2 separate regions of the Homo sapiens genome follow, and region 2 is linked to region 1. Evidence: promoter capture Hi-C in 16 types of primary human blood cells and fetal thymus (Javierre and others, 2016). All regions are on one chromosome and are shown on one strand. The core of a region is centred on a gene start or on the middle of the fragment in contact, and the rest is flanking DNA. Distances in the headings are between cores, read along the strand shown. Region 1 holds the start of ENTPD4 (ectonucleoside triphosphate diphosphohydrolase 4). Region 2 has its middle 120 kb from the start of SNORD3F.

Region 1 (7,096 bases), core at 2,404-4,903:
CATGCATGGGGGGATAAAATGTTAGGAAAGAAACCAAAATATTAACAGTGCTTAGTTATTTCTGGGCAATGAGATCAGGTATCATCTTTATTTTCTTCCCTAGGCTTGCCTATATTTTTCAAAGGACATATATTAATTTTATCATCAGAGGAAATAACAATTTTTAACAAGCTACCTTTGACGGATGAAACCTTGTTTCCAGGATCAAATACTTTTCCGAATATATTGAGAAAGCCTATCTTAAAAGCCTATCAGGACACAGGAATTCCAATCTGAACATTTAAAAAAAACATCAGTGATAGTTGTGTGATAGCTGAACTGAGAACCAAAGAAAAGACAGTTTTATTTAACAGCTTAAAGTCATGGTTAAAGGCAAACTGGTCCTTGAGGAAGAAAGTCAGGACTACGAAGGTGACATGAGGAGTAACAAACCCAACTCCAAATTTCATGGAGTTTGCAGATTGCTACAGAGAAAATACTAATGCCCAGAAAATAGTCAAGATACTAATTAAAGGCAATGTTAAATTACTGGGATTCTTGTTATAAGAGCTCAGAGAAGAGCACAGAGAAGGCTAGCTTTAGCAGGAAAAGATTCCTAGAGGTGGGAGGTCAATTCTAGATGGGGTGAGAAAGAACACACTTCGAAGAGGAAGGTGACCGAGAGAATGATCACAGCGCACTTAGGAAACTTTGTGTCATCTGAGGTTTGTCTCAGGAATTTTTTTTTTTTGAGATATGTGATGATTTTGATCAAAAGGACAAACAGATATTTTAAGTTACAAAGCTTGTGTTTAAAAGCAGAGAAAATAGGACAGCTTATAACTGCTGAAGCACTGTAATTTTAACTCAGGACAAAAGTACAATGGATTATTGCCTAAGAGTTAAATGGTAATTTGATCTTCAAATGTAAACTCCAATTGTCCTTCTAGCTAAGAATCTTCGCACCAGGGCACTGGGAGGCAAATTCAGTAATACCACATAAAACTGACATGTTTTAAAAAAGCCTAAATTGTGTTAGACCTATCACCAGAGAGATGCATTAATTCTCATGATTTCAGCTAGTGGGGCCCTACTTGGCTGAACATTATTGGAATAAAGCCTACAGTCAGGTGTCAATGTCTTTGTCAGTCTCTCACTGACAGTTCTACAGATAACGACGAAAACAATGCAAATCAACCACAAAGGGAAATGGTTCCTCTGGTGGAAAAACACAAGATGCAAGGAAACAGATGTTAGTGAACTCAAATCACAGGCAAACAAAATCACAGAGAAGTCAGCCTCTGGGAGAGCTCAGCTTCTGAATAAGCAAAGGTACCACAGGGAAGGGTACTTCAGAAAAGAATGATTTGAATATCAAAGGATTCAAGAGAACCTGGAAAAATTAAAGATGCTCTCAACCATTCCGGCAGCGTTTTGCAAGAAACAACTGTCTTTCTGAGAGTGAGAGGCTGATGTGGAGGCTGCCGGGTGGCACCGTTACTCAGTAGTGACAAAAGATACATGAAGACAACTTGATTCATTCTTTAAGAAGATATGTATGTAGTTGCATTTATGATCTGTATGTTCAATATTTATCTTACACATTTTAATTTTATTTTTCAATATAAAATCTTAACCTCTTCCTCCCTCTATTAATTTGCAAAATTCTGGTTCCCATTTTAAGTAGTCTTTTTCTGGTCACTTTTCCTGAATTAACTCTGACTTTCCTCAAGTTCCAGTTCCACGTTCCAAGCTCATTGAAGCCCTGTTACTGCAAGCTCAACTAGTCCAACTCTAGGGTTGAAATCTTCTAATGCAAACTCTAATACCACCCTCCAAATTCTCCAGGTCTAAGACGGGTACCACCAATCCCCATTGACCTGGATTACCTGGTTCTCAGCTTTGATTCCCACATCCGGTGTTGACAATCTTCTATCATTCTCCAAGCCAGTCGATTCTTCCTCAGATATCCCTCATATCTAAGATGACCACAGCAGGCACCACTACCTCAAGACAGATCTCTTGGCGACTCACCCACCTTCTGCCTTCACTGTGCACGCCACACTTTACAAGCAACTCTTTGTAAAACACGGCCTTCAAAATATGATCAGCTAAGAACCTTCTGGAAGGCCATGGATCAACACCAAGTTTCCTGTGTGGCACCTGAAACCTTTTATCCATCAACTGGTCCACCTTATCTCACCAACCTATCCTCTCATCAGTCCCAGATACCATCTCTCAGCTCCAGTGCAGCAGGTCTCTCTCTTCTCTCCCACACAAGCTGTCTCCATGCCTGCCTCAGGCATTTACTAACAGCACTTCCTCCGAGCCACCACCGTGTCCTCCTCTCAAGACTACACTTCTTTCAAGGCACAAGTCAACATGTTTCTTTGTCAAGATTTAACCTGTTACACATCCTGATGTTTTCTTACAATTGGAATCGTCTCTTTATTCATGAGTAGTCTATTTTAAATAAACATGCTGAGTAAATACGTAGAGAATATAAATCCTTAGATAAATGTTCATTTTTGTCTCCTTCCTAGACTATATCCTCAAGGGCCTCAGTCACACATTTCCTATTAGAGGTAGAAGAATATAAGCCATAGATTCAACATGCAACAACTACAAGACCTCTGTTAAGGTAAACAGAGAAATAAACGATTCAACTACACGAATTAGTGTTCCATTTTATAATTCTACTATGTCAAACAGAATTAACAAACCTGATACAAAAACATCAAATATATGGTAACACAAATAATATAACTCTTTTAGGCCTCTCTAAAGCTGGATAATTTGGTATTTTCATCACAAAAAGGAGACAACAAAGACTGCAATGCGAAATTAGCCTGGGCTTTGAGTGTCTAATTTAGAATTCTTCCATTACCTCTAGTTTACCTTCTAGCCTGAAAGTTCCTGAATCATAAAGGATCTCTTTAGTTTCCTTCGTGATAAGTGTTCTCTGAAAACGCTCTGCACTAGGGTTCATCTAACTGGGGTCTGAAGCACCCTAAGGGTTCTGGGACACATTCTAGACCATGAGAGAATTGTTCCTTTAAAAGGGGTCCGCGCATTACTCAAGTTCAGAAACAATGCTGTGCATCATCACTTTACTGCCCAATAAGCTCCATTTTTCCAAGAAGAAATCTAACATGAAATCTGGCAAAAGCAAAGCAAAGCGAAAACGACAAGACGAGCGAATGTCATCATTTAAAGCGGCAGGCAGGGCCGGCTGGGTCCCGGGTGCAGCATCCCTGCTGCCCGGTCAAGCTCCGCCCATTCGAGGGGGGGATCCCGAGCGGTCACCCGAGGCGCGCGACCGCCAGGTGTCCCCTGCCAGGGGCTGGGGGAGCGCGCCGGCCGCCAGGGCTCACAGGGGTTGGTCCCGGGGCGCTCGGATGTGGCCGCGCGGCAGGGGAGGCGGGAACCGGTCCGCGGGGCTAAGCAGGCGGCTGTGGGGGCCTGGGGCAGAGAGGCTCGTCCGCGGCCCGCTCGCCGCGCCGCCGGCCCCCGCACTCCAACCCACTCGCCGGCCCCTTCGGCCGCCCGCCCTCCCCTCACCCACGCTCGGAAGGCAACCTCACCTGCTTGGCCGGCCGGGGACCCCGGGAGCGGGGGACCACCAGTGGGCAGCATCACGGCCAGCCGGCTTCCTGGAGGCCGCGCTCCTTTCCTGGAGCCGCACCCCCGCCCGGCCCCCGCCGGCAACACGTCACCGCCTGCGCCCGGAGCGCGCCCGCTGGCGGCGGGAGCGCGCACGCCGAGGGGCGCGTTGAGCGCTGGGGGGCGGAGCCTGATGCGGGATGATTGGCGTCCGAGCGCTGGGCTGTTCCGTGGACCCGCGCGGCCACGCCAGTGTGCTGTGCACGGGAAATGTGGACGTGGGAGCACGGAGGCACCCAGTACTGTGGCGTGGTGCTCGTCTGGTCGTCAGCGAGCCTCAGCGTACTTAGGACACCGCAGTTTATCTTTCCTTAGCGCTCCTAACGGTTATGGAAAATAGCGCTTGAAAACCTGGTAAGGACTAGGCATTGTTGCTCAACTCTTGACATTTACACCTTTGCCGGTAACTCTCCCTGTTTCACAGATGGGGAAACGGAGGCTCACACTTATTCAGTCTCTCTTGAGATCCACCTGATTCGTGAGAGGTAGAGCCAGGATTTCATTCTTGCCCGTCGATGGCATATGTTAGTGCCTATGTTGGGGGAGGCAGACTGCCCCAGCCCTCCCCAACACACGCAATGGTTATGAGAAGAAATAAAGCGAAGGGTGTTCCTGAGATTGACCCCATGACCTACACTTAGTACAAGGCTAAGCTCTCTTAGCTCTCTGGCTTAGCAATAAACTGCTTTGAAGACACAGAACTTTGCACTTGAGAGCCGGAAGAGACCTTGGGAATCCCGGGTTCCATCCTTTCTTCCACCTTGTATACAGGTGAATGCACTGTGGCCCAGAGATAGGAAGTGACCAGCAATCCAGCCACTTTAAAAGATTTTTAAAAACAAGAGCCCTAGAAACGTCTACTCCATTCCATTTATCAAGTAAAACAAGCATAGACAGAACTGGCAGTTCTACATCTTAACACAGAATCCTTCTTGGTCCAGCACCCGCCTGGGTCACCTCCTCTTCCTGGATTCAGCTACTGTTAACGGAAGAAACCATGAAGCCTCAGAAGGTTAGAGCCAAAGGGACTCTACTGTGTAGCCCCAATCACCTTCTTTTACAGTTAAGAGCCTGGAACCCAGAGAGGTTGAGTGACTTGGCCAAGACCCCCTGGAGGCAGAGGAGAGCAGAACCAATGTTTCAGACTCCCACATGACTTGCGCATCAGTGTCTTTTTTTTGACAATCTGTTGCTATAAGAAATTACTCGTTTGGATAATTTTCACACTAGAAAACCCTGTGACCCAAGGCTAGCATTGAGAAGCTAAAGCTGGCCACTGACATACTGTGATTTTAAGGACAGTCTCCTTCGAAATTATCTGCCTTTCAAAATCTTTGCCATTGGAGACACTGGTTGGGGTTATGTTAGTCTTCCTTAAGGAGGGCTCTACTAAAATGCCAGACTAGGCCGGGCATGGTGGCTCATGCCTGTAATCCCAGCACTTTGGGAGTCCAAGGCAGGTGGATTGCCTGAAATTAGGAGTTCAAGACCAGCCTGACCAACATGGTGAAACCCCATCTCTATTAAAAATACAAACACTAGCTGGACATAGTGGCTTTTTTGTGCCTGTAATCCCAGCTACTCAGGAGGCTGAGACAGGAGAATTGCTTGAACCCGGGAGGTGGAGGTTGCAGTGAGCCGAGATCACGCCAATGGACTCCAGCCTGAGCAACAGAGTGAGACTCCATCTCAGAGAGAGAGAGAAGAAAAGCCAGACTAGTAAGTATTATCACACCATCCATATTTCCTGATAATTTATATGTAATAATTGTCTGATAAGAGCTAGGAAAGAAAAATATAGGAAAGTATGGAAACGTGTAACTTGGCATATTACATTCTAGAGCTGCAGTGACAAATTGCCCTAAACTGGGTGGCTTAAAGCAAGATAATTTATTGTCTTCCAGTTCTAGATGGTAGAAGCCTGAAATGAAGGTGTCAGCAGGGCTGTGCTCTCTCTAAAGATCTAGAGGAGGATCCTTCTTTGCCTCTTCCTAGCTTCTGGTGGCTACTGGCCATCCTTGGCCTTCCTCAGCTTGTAGATGCATCACTTTGGTCTCTGCCCCTGTTGTCACATGGTATTATCTCTGTGTGTCTGTGTCTCTGTCTCCAAGTTTCTTTCTTCTCATAAAGACACCAGCCATATTAGATTCAAGGCTCACCCTCATCCAGTGTGATCTTATGATCTCATATTAACTTGATTATATTTGCAAAGATCCTATTTCCAAATAAGGTCACATTCATGGGTTCTGGGTGGACATGAATTTTTTGGGGGTGGTCACTATTCAACTTAGTACATGAGAGGACCATCCTGGTCTGGTTCATCAGGGAGAGCTTCTTTGAGGTAACGCTGTCTGAGGTCACACCTGCACAATGAATGGGAATTTATTAGAATTCTGGGCCTATATGAAGGAATAGTATTTCAGTCAGTGGAAACAGCAAAGAGGCTCTGAAGGGGCCCATTCTCACTTGTTAACAAGAGAAACAAAAACTGGAGCTAGGCTGGGCGCGATGGCTCAAGCCTGTAATATCAGCACTTTGGGAGGCCGAGGCGGGTGGATCACGAGGTCAGGAGATCGAGACCATCCTGGCTAACACGGTGAAACCCTGTCTCTACTAAAAAAAAATACAAAAAATTAGCTGGGCGTGGTGGCAGGCGCCTGTAGTCCCAGCTACTCAGGAGGCTGAGGCAGGAGAATGGCGTGAACCCGGGAGGCGGAGCTTGCAGTGAGCTGTGATCGCACCACTGCACTCCAGCCTGGGCGACAGAGCAAGACTCCATCTCAAAAAAAAAAAAACAAAAACTGGAGCTAACAGGAGGGAACACTTACTAAGTACTTTATGCCAGGCATGGTTGTAAGAACGTTAGAAAACACGGCATACAGAATGATAATGAAACTGCATCAAAATATGTGGAATGCAGTCAGAACAGTCCTTCAAGAGAAATTTATAGCTTTAAAAGTTTATTTTAGTAAAGAAAAAAGGTTTGAAATCAATTATCTAAGTTTCCACCTTATGACATTAGAATAAGAAAGTGAATTAAACTCGAAGTGAATAGGAGGAAAAAAATAATAAAAAATAATATGAGACATTAACCAACTTACAAGTTGGTTCTTTGAAAATATTAACAAAATTGCTAAACTCCTAGTGAGATTGAGCAGGACAAAAAAACACGAATAACAAATATCAAGCATAAAAGAGGAAGATCCCTACAGATATACAGAAATTGAAAATATAATAAGAAAACATTATGAATAACTTTATGCTGATCATTTCGATAATTTACATTAAATGGAAAAAGTCTTTGAAAAATACAACTTCCCAAAACTGGCACAGGAAGAAATAGAACATTTGAATCACCCCATATCTTTAAGGTCCTAAAAAGAAAATTCCAGAGCAAGATGGCTTCACTAGTAAATGTTTATCAATCATTTAAGAAAGGTAATATTGATTTTAT
Region 2 (6,710 bases), core at 1,388-3,887, 3.0 Mb before region 1:
AGGAGAGCACTGGAGTGCCTGCTGCAGGTACCCTGAGCTCATGGTTCCCACTGAGCAGCAAGAACTGGATTTAGAAAAAGTGGAGAACAGCCTGGCAACATAGACCTCATCTCTACTAAAATTAAAAAAAAAAAATTAGCCAGGCATGGTGTCTTGCACCTGTAGTCCTAGCGACTTGGGAGGCTGAGGCAGGAGGATTGCTTGAGCCTGGGAGATCGAGGATGCAGTGAGCTGTGGTGATGCCGCTGTACTCCAGCTGGGCGTGAGACCCTGTTTCCAAAAAAAAAAAAAGTAGAGGAGCAAAAATAGTACATTGGTAATGGCAACACCAATTTCACACTAGCCTAGGATTATCAAATATTATTCTGTTTGATCTTAGACAAGCTATTCAGCAATTTTTGTGCCAAGTTTCTTTAACTGTAGAATAAAATTACTAACTAGATATGAACCTTGAAATGGTGCATAGCATATTGTAAATAAAAAAAATCATTGTTGTTGTTATTGATATCGGTATTTTTCAGCAACACAAAGTTATTTTCTAGCTCTATCTCCCTCCTCATGATCATCTAACCTGGCCCTTGCCCGCCTTTCTCCTAAAATGAAACTTCTACTTCTATCTTGCTGGTTTCCTCACTTGTTCCCAAAAGATGCCATGCACGATGCTTGCACCATTTCCCTTCCTAGACTCTGTCCTCATTGGTCTCCCCTAAGGCTATCTAAATCTATGTGGTCCTCAAGGGAGTGGAAGGAGCAAGTGCTTTGGATTTAAAAGTCTAGGTTTAAGTCTTAGATCCTCACCTTACTTAAGTTGCGCGACCTTGGGTAAGCCATTGAACATGTCTCAGGGTCAATTTCCTCACCATTAAATATGGGACAATAGCAACTACTACACTAGCTTGTCACGAGGAGTAAATATGATAACTAGGTTAAACTCCCAGCACAGACCCAGGCATACTTTAGTTTGCTCAACAAGCATTGGCGATTGGATTCCTTCACAACCTTAATATGATCTAACCAGAGAGCCATTCAATGCACAATTATTGAAAGCCTGTGATGCACATGTACCTGCAAGGGATAGTAAGGTGCAGGAGTTACAGCTCCCCCAAGGATGATAACAGTTGCCTTGCAGCTTTCCCAACCTCCTCAGTGTGCAGGCCCCTCCCCACCTCTCCCTCCTGGTATCTCTACTGCACAGACCCATGCTCCATCTGAACACCAATCTCTTAGGCATTGCTATTTACATCTTCCTACATATCAGTTATGCCTCTCCATGTCAATTGTGAGCTGCTTGAGGGGAGAGACTTCCATATTCTTCCCTGTCCCCATACAACAGTTAACACAGGCACATGCCCTGTGCTCTCTAAGTAATTGCTAAATAAATACATTTTAAAGGAATGTTTGTGATCCTTGATAACACCGAGCAGTTTTCATTTTGCAGGCTGACACCTGTTGGAACCATAACATCAATTTTGCGGGCTGTGACATCAAAATGCCCCTAGTACGCATGAGTATTATTTGCTGAAACTTTCGTTTTTGTCTTAAATGCCTGTCACAGGCTGGGTTGTGGTTTAAAAATAAGTTTCTTACTTTTGATCATGGTTTGAAAAAAGAAAAAAAACAGTGACAGGATGCGTATGACAAGGCTCCTAGCTTGGATGCTGAGCCCCTTGTGGGCAGAATCAAAGACATTGGGCACCAAGACCTCCCAGCTGGAGAGGAAGCAACTGGTTTCAGAAAAGCTCTCCTGGGGTTGGGGCGGATTAGAAGACAGGCAGTCAAGAGAAGAAATGCTCAGGGGCCTGAGCACAGTCGCTCAAACTGCTTATTGTCTGGGCAACAAATAGGCACTGCAGGCGCACCTAAAAACCTCAAGTGTCTTTCCTTCAGAAAGACACAAAGCACTTAAGACCCTGCAATTGCTCAAGATTTTCCTCTAGGGATCCTTGTTTTCTCTAGAGCTTTAGATTGTAATAGAAACACCGTTGCCTTCATTCTTTTCTCACTTATTAAGCTGAAAAAGTAATCTGGAATCTTTAGCCTTTGGAGATTTGGCGATAATTTCTTGATGCAAAATTTGTATAGACAGCTTGACCATGATTGAAAGACCACATGAAAAAATCCTTGAAATTGAAATTGAAATCCTTGAAACTCAAAATTCTAGGACTGGAAATTCTTATCACCTATAGATGCTTTGAGGTTGAATTCAAAGTGTCATTGACCCAGGCACTGTTGGGAGTAGGAAGCCTTTTTTCTTAGGGAATTTGAGCCTCAACCTCTGTCTGCACTTTGCAGCATTGGCTGTGATGGGGCTTGTCTTGGCTGTGATGGGGCTTGTCTTCTGGTTCCATGTTCTGGACAAATGCTTCCACCTTTCTTTCTGGAACGCCTGCCTAATGTCTGGCTGTCTGCTGTTTGTACTCTGAAAACTACTTTAATTGGGAAGGTAAAATACAGTCTCAAATGCCCTTTTTGTGCCTTGTGAAAGCCCTCTAAAGCTTAGCTTAACTCAAAGAGCTTAAATCAATAGCACCGGCCCATTTTCTAATCACAGGGAATTTAATAATGATCAGGAAAGCCATTATCAGTCTGATCTGTGGGACTGTTTGGACTTTAACTCTTGGAAAACAGCTTCCTGTCAAACTTACATACTGTTATCATATAAAATGTCACTGAGAAGGGTATTAAAATCCCTCTTTGGAGAGAAAGCCTTATAGGGGTTCTATCAAAACTACTCTGTATGCTGATGAGTTAGGTGCTAGGAGAGAGAGAGAGCTAAAAACAAGCTTGGAGGTGGAAAGGAGGGAATTGTTCTCTTTTTGCCACAGCACACCCAAATGGAGAAGGGGAGGCTTCTTGGTGTCTGGGTCTGTAATTCAAGAAGTCCCTTGAGACACCTCAGCCCAGGGGCTGGAAAGTTCACGTCTATCCGCTGAGGCCTGGGAAGCCTGTTGGGGCCCCTGAAGGGAAGGGTGAGAGGAGAGCAGCCATGTCGCTCCATGGCTCCTGGCAGAAGTGTGAGGCTCCTGGACTCTGGTGACTTAGCCCCATTTACCATCACAGAGACATATAATACAGGCATTTGCCTACTTAGATCCCAGCCATGTGAGTTTTGGAAGTCTGCTGAGGTGAATTTCAACCCTGGTTACCATAATGCAGTTGGGCCTTTTGTGAGTTGAATGTGATGTTGTTGTTTTTAGGGATTAAATGTTCAGAGAGAACCACTGACTTGGGGTTAGATGGTTGGCCTTTAACAAAACCCTAAAGGAACAGGGTGTGAACAGTTACATAACAAAAGATAAGAGGAACTACTTGAAAAGCTGAGTTGGCCAGCATGGTGGCTTATGCCTCTAATCAGCACTTTGGGAGGCTAAGGTATAAAGAGCACTTGAGCCCAGGAGTTCGAGACAAGCCTGGACAACATAGTGAGACCCCTCATCTCTATAAAAAAATGTTAAAAAAATAGCTTGGTGTGGTGACACGTGCCTGTATTCCCAGCTATTCACAAGGCTGAGGTGGGAGGATTGCTTGAGCCCAAGAGGTTAAGGGTTGGCCAACTCTCTGCACCTGGGTTCTTCCAGCAGCCAAAGACTTGTAGAGAAGAGAAATGAGTGCATGTGGGCTCCGGGGGGCACATTCCTCCATTGTGTGCTCACATCAGACAGTCTCCACGATCCCAGCCAGCTCCTGGGGCTGTGACCTCCTGGGGTCCAGAGTCTTTCCTGAGCCACTGCCATGAAGCCAAAGTCCCCAGAGTGAAGCTGCCTGCACTGTGTCCTATGTCACCAGCCCTGGTTGCCCTACTTGACACAAATGGAGACCCCATCTCCATCTGACTTGTTTAAGGTCTTAAGTCTAAAACCTCAGCATCTTCACAACTCCACTTGCCTTATCCCTCCCCCACCAGATCCCCCCCCTCCAGGACTGCTAATCTCTCCTGCTGGGATGCACGTGCTCCCACCCCACATTTTGCAGGTTTTAACCCCTTTGGCTCTTTCAGATAGGCCTTAACCTCCTTAAGAAACTTATAACACATGGAGAGCGAAGGCCCAACACTGATTTTACATATTAGAAACTCAAACTCCGAGGTGGTCCGTGAGACCCTGTGGCTGGTCGGTGGCAGCAGGTGCCCAGGACACTGGCCTGGGCCTTATTCCTGGCCTGTGTGCCTTCTGTGTACCACCTGCCTGGGATGTCTCCATGTTGTACATAGAGAAGACTCTGGAGGGGGCCTTAGTACAAGCTTTGTTGCCCCAAAACTGAGTGATTGAGGGAAATACTGCAATCCCTCTGGTCTTCCTTTCTTTTTCTGTAAAATGAGGATAATCATGTCTAATTTGAAGCTTAAATGTATTTAGTGTTCCTAGCACTAGAACTGGCATGTAAAGTACTTAATTGAACTGTCATTGACATGCTTCCTGAAAAATTACAGGAAAAATGGATCCTGAAGGAAAATTGGGAGTTATGGACTGCATGATTTTGTTTCCCCAAATTCATAAGCTGAACTCAGAACCCCCGGTGTGATGGTGTTAGGAGGTGGGGCCTTTGGAAAGTGATTAGGTCATAAGGGTGGAACCCTCGTAATGGAATCAGTACCCTTGTAAGAAGAGACAGGAGAGAGCTTGTTTTTGTGTTAGGCTGTTCTTGCGTTGCTACAGAGAAATACCTGAGACTGAGTAATTTATGAAGAAAAGGCATTTAATTGGCTCACGGTTCTGCAGGCATGGCACTGGCATCTGCTCAGCTTCTGGGGAGGCCTCAGGGAGCTTTTACTCATGGTGGGAGGCAAATAGGGAGTCAGGCACGTCACACGGGAGGGCAGGAGCAAGAGATAATGAGGGTGGGTAGTGCCACATTCTTAAATAACCAGATCTCAAGAGAATGCACTCACTATTGCCAGGATAGCACTAAACCACGAGGGATCCGCCCTTGTGACCCAGACACCTCCCACCCAGGCCCCACCTCCAAGATGGAGAATTACAGTTCAACATGAGGTTTGGCGGGGACATATATTCAAACTCTATCAGTTTGCTTCCTCTCTCTTTCTCTCTTCTTCTCTTCTTCTCCAAGAAGACAGACATCTGCAAGCTAGCAAGCAGGTCCTCACCAGACATCAACTTGCTGGCACCTTGATCCTGGATTTCCCAGCCTCTACAGCCATGAGAAATATGTTTGTGTTAAGCCATCCAGTCTGGAGTAATTTGTTATGGCAGCCCAGACTAAGGAAGGGAGCACGAAGAAATCAGGAAATATGGCCCCAGTATGATGCTGGGCTCTGTGGGAGACAGCTGCTTGAAGGCAGCAGAGGTGTCATCTGTAGAGGCTTACCACCTCTTAAGATTATGTTGGGGTTTCCAAGCAATGACTCATGACAATAATATCCAGGGGGACAGAGCCAGTCATTGAGTTCCAATGCATATTATCTATACAAAAAGTGGGTTAGCCAAAGCTCTCCATGGCTTCAAGGGCTGGACACAGCCTTGAGATATCAAATCATTAATAGGAGCCAAAAGTTCTTATTCTACCATCATTATTAATATTGATAAAAGAAAGCAGAGGTATTGCTGATTCAAAATCACATGACCAAAATATCTTGTCTACTGTCCATCTCCTCCCCTAAATATAAATTTGATAGAGATCTTTTCTGTCCTAGTCTCTGCTGTAGCCCCAGAACCAGAGTGTCTGTCACAAAACAGGTGCCCAGTGAACATTTGTTCAATGGACGAATGATGAACAGATTAAAATAATAGACCGTGGCTGAAATTGCTATTTTAGCCAACAAACGCAGTATCAAATTATCAAAATTGCTATTTTAGCCAACATGTGCAATATCAAATAATCAAATAGACTTGATCATTTCGATAGCGCATATGTTGGCTAAAATAGCAATTTCAGCGTCTTAAAGACATGTGCATGCATAGTCAGCTCTTGATTAGTTCTTCTTTAGTTTGTACATGCTTTTAGATCATCACTTAGTGTCTCTTGCTGCCCATTTTTGGCCCGTTTTACGATTTGTTTGCAACCTATAATCATGTCTAAGTGGAGAAGACCAGTGAAAGCCAGGCAAGTTGATAACATCTTCACTCTAGAAAAGAGTGAGAGTTTTGGGGTGAGTAGGTGAAGGGGTTTGAGGTGGTCTGCGTCCTGCCATCTGTCTGTTTTCCCCAGTCCTCATGGCCACGTACAATTGCAGAAGTCAGAGGCAACCTTGCTTCCTCAGAATCTTGCATGAATTGAGAGCACTTGCAATCAGTCTGGGGCCACAGTAATTGAAATTAATTGAATTTTAGAGATAATAACGTTTATACTAATGTGTGTATTGAGAGGAGACAATAATCTAAGAGATAAGTACCTAGGAGAGGTGGGGTGGGAGAACGTGCATCCCAGCAGGACAGATTAGCAGTCCTGGAGCAGGGGTCTGGTCGGGGAGGGATAAGGCAAGTGGAGTTGTGAAGACGCTGAGGTTTTAGAGACGCAAGAGAGAGAAGCAACCTGGGGAGGAAGAGGCAGAAGAACCTTTGTATGATAATGATCATAATATTAATAGTGCCAGATGCCCTTTATTGAGTGTTTCTATGTGCCAGGCACTATGTATTTTAAATTTGTGATGTTATTTTATTTTCACAAGAAGCTCATGAGGTGAGTTGTCCTCCGTATTTTATTTTATTTTATTTTATTTTATTTTATTTTATTTTATTTTATTTTATTTTATT

What was found. The method cuts DNA at HindIII sites, captures the fragments that hold promoters and counts their contacts. A CHiCAGO score of 5 or more calls a contact.
Region 2: a contact is called between a fragment that was not itself captured here and the fragment with the promoter of ENTPD4 in region 1, in 1 of 17 cell types (non-activated CD4 T cells). The highest score is 5.4, in non-activated CD4 T cells.

The regions. Positions count from the first base shown.
Region 1 is chr8:23,453,994-23,461,089 of GRCh38, forward strand. ENTPD4 (ectonucleoside triphosphate diphosphohydrolase 4) reads right to left here and starts at 3,654. Exons shown (of 13, transcript NM_004901.5): 1 at 3,564-3,654. It overlaps ENTPD4-DT (ENTPD4 divergent transcript), which reads left to right and starts at 3,778. Exons shown (of 5, transcript NR_186533.1): 1 at 3,778-3,996; 2 at 5,221-5,361. RefSeq lists an enhancer at 821-1,322 and a silencer at 3,188-3,867. The HindIII fragment of the contact is 7,512 bases long and covers 783-7,096 here.
Region 2 is chr8:20,491,796-20,498,505 of GRCh38, forward strand. No RefSeq gene overlaps it. Among named protein-coding and RNA genes, the nearest start is that of SNORD3F, 120 kb to the right of the region's middle. RefSeq lists an enhancer at 1,561-2,099. The HindIII fragment of the contact is 288 bases long and covers 2,494-2,781 here.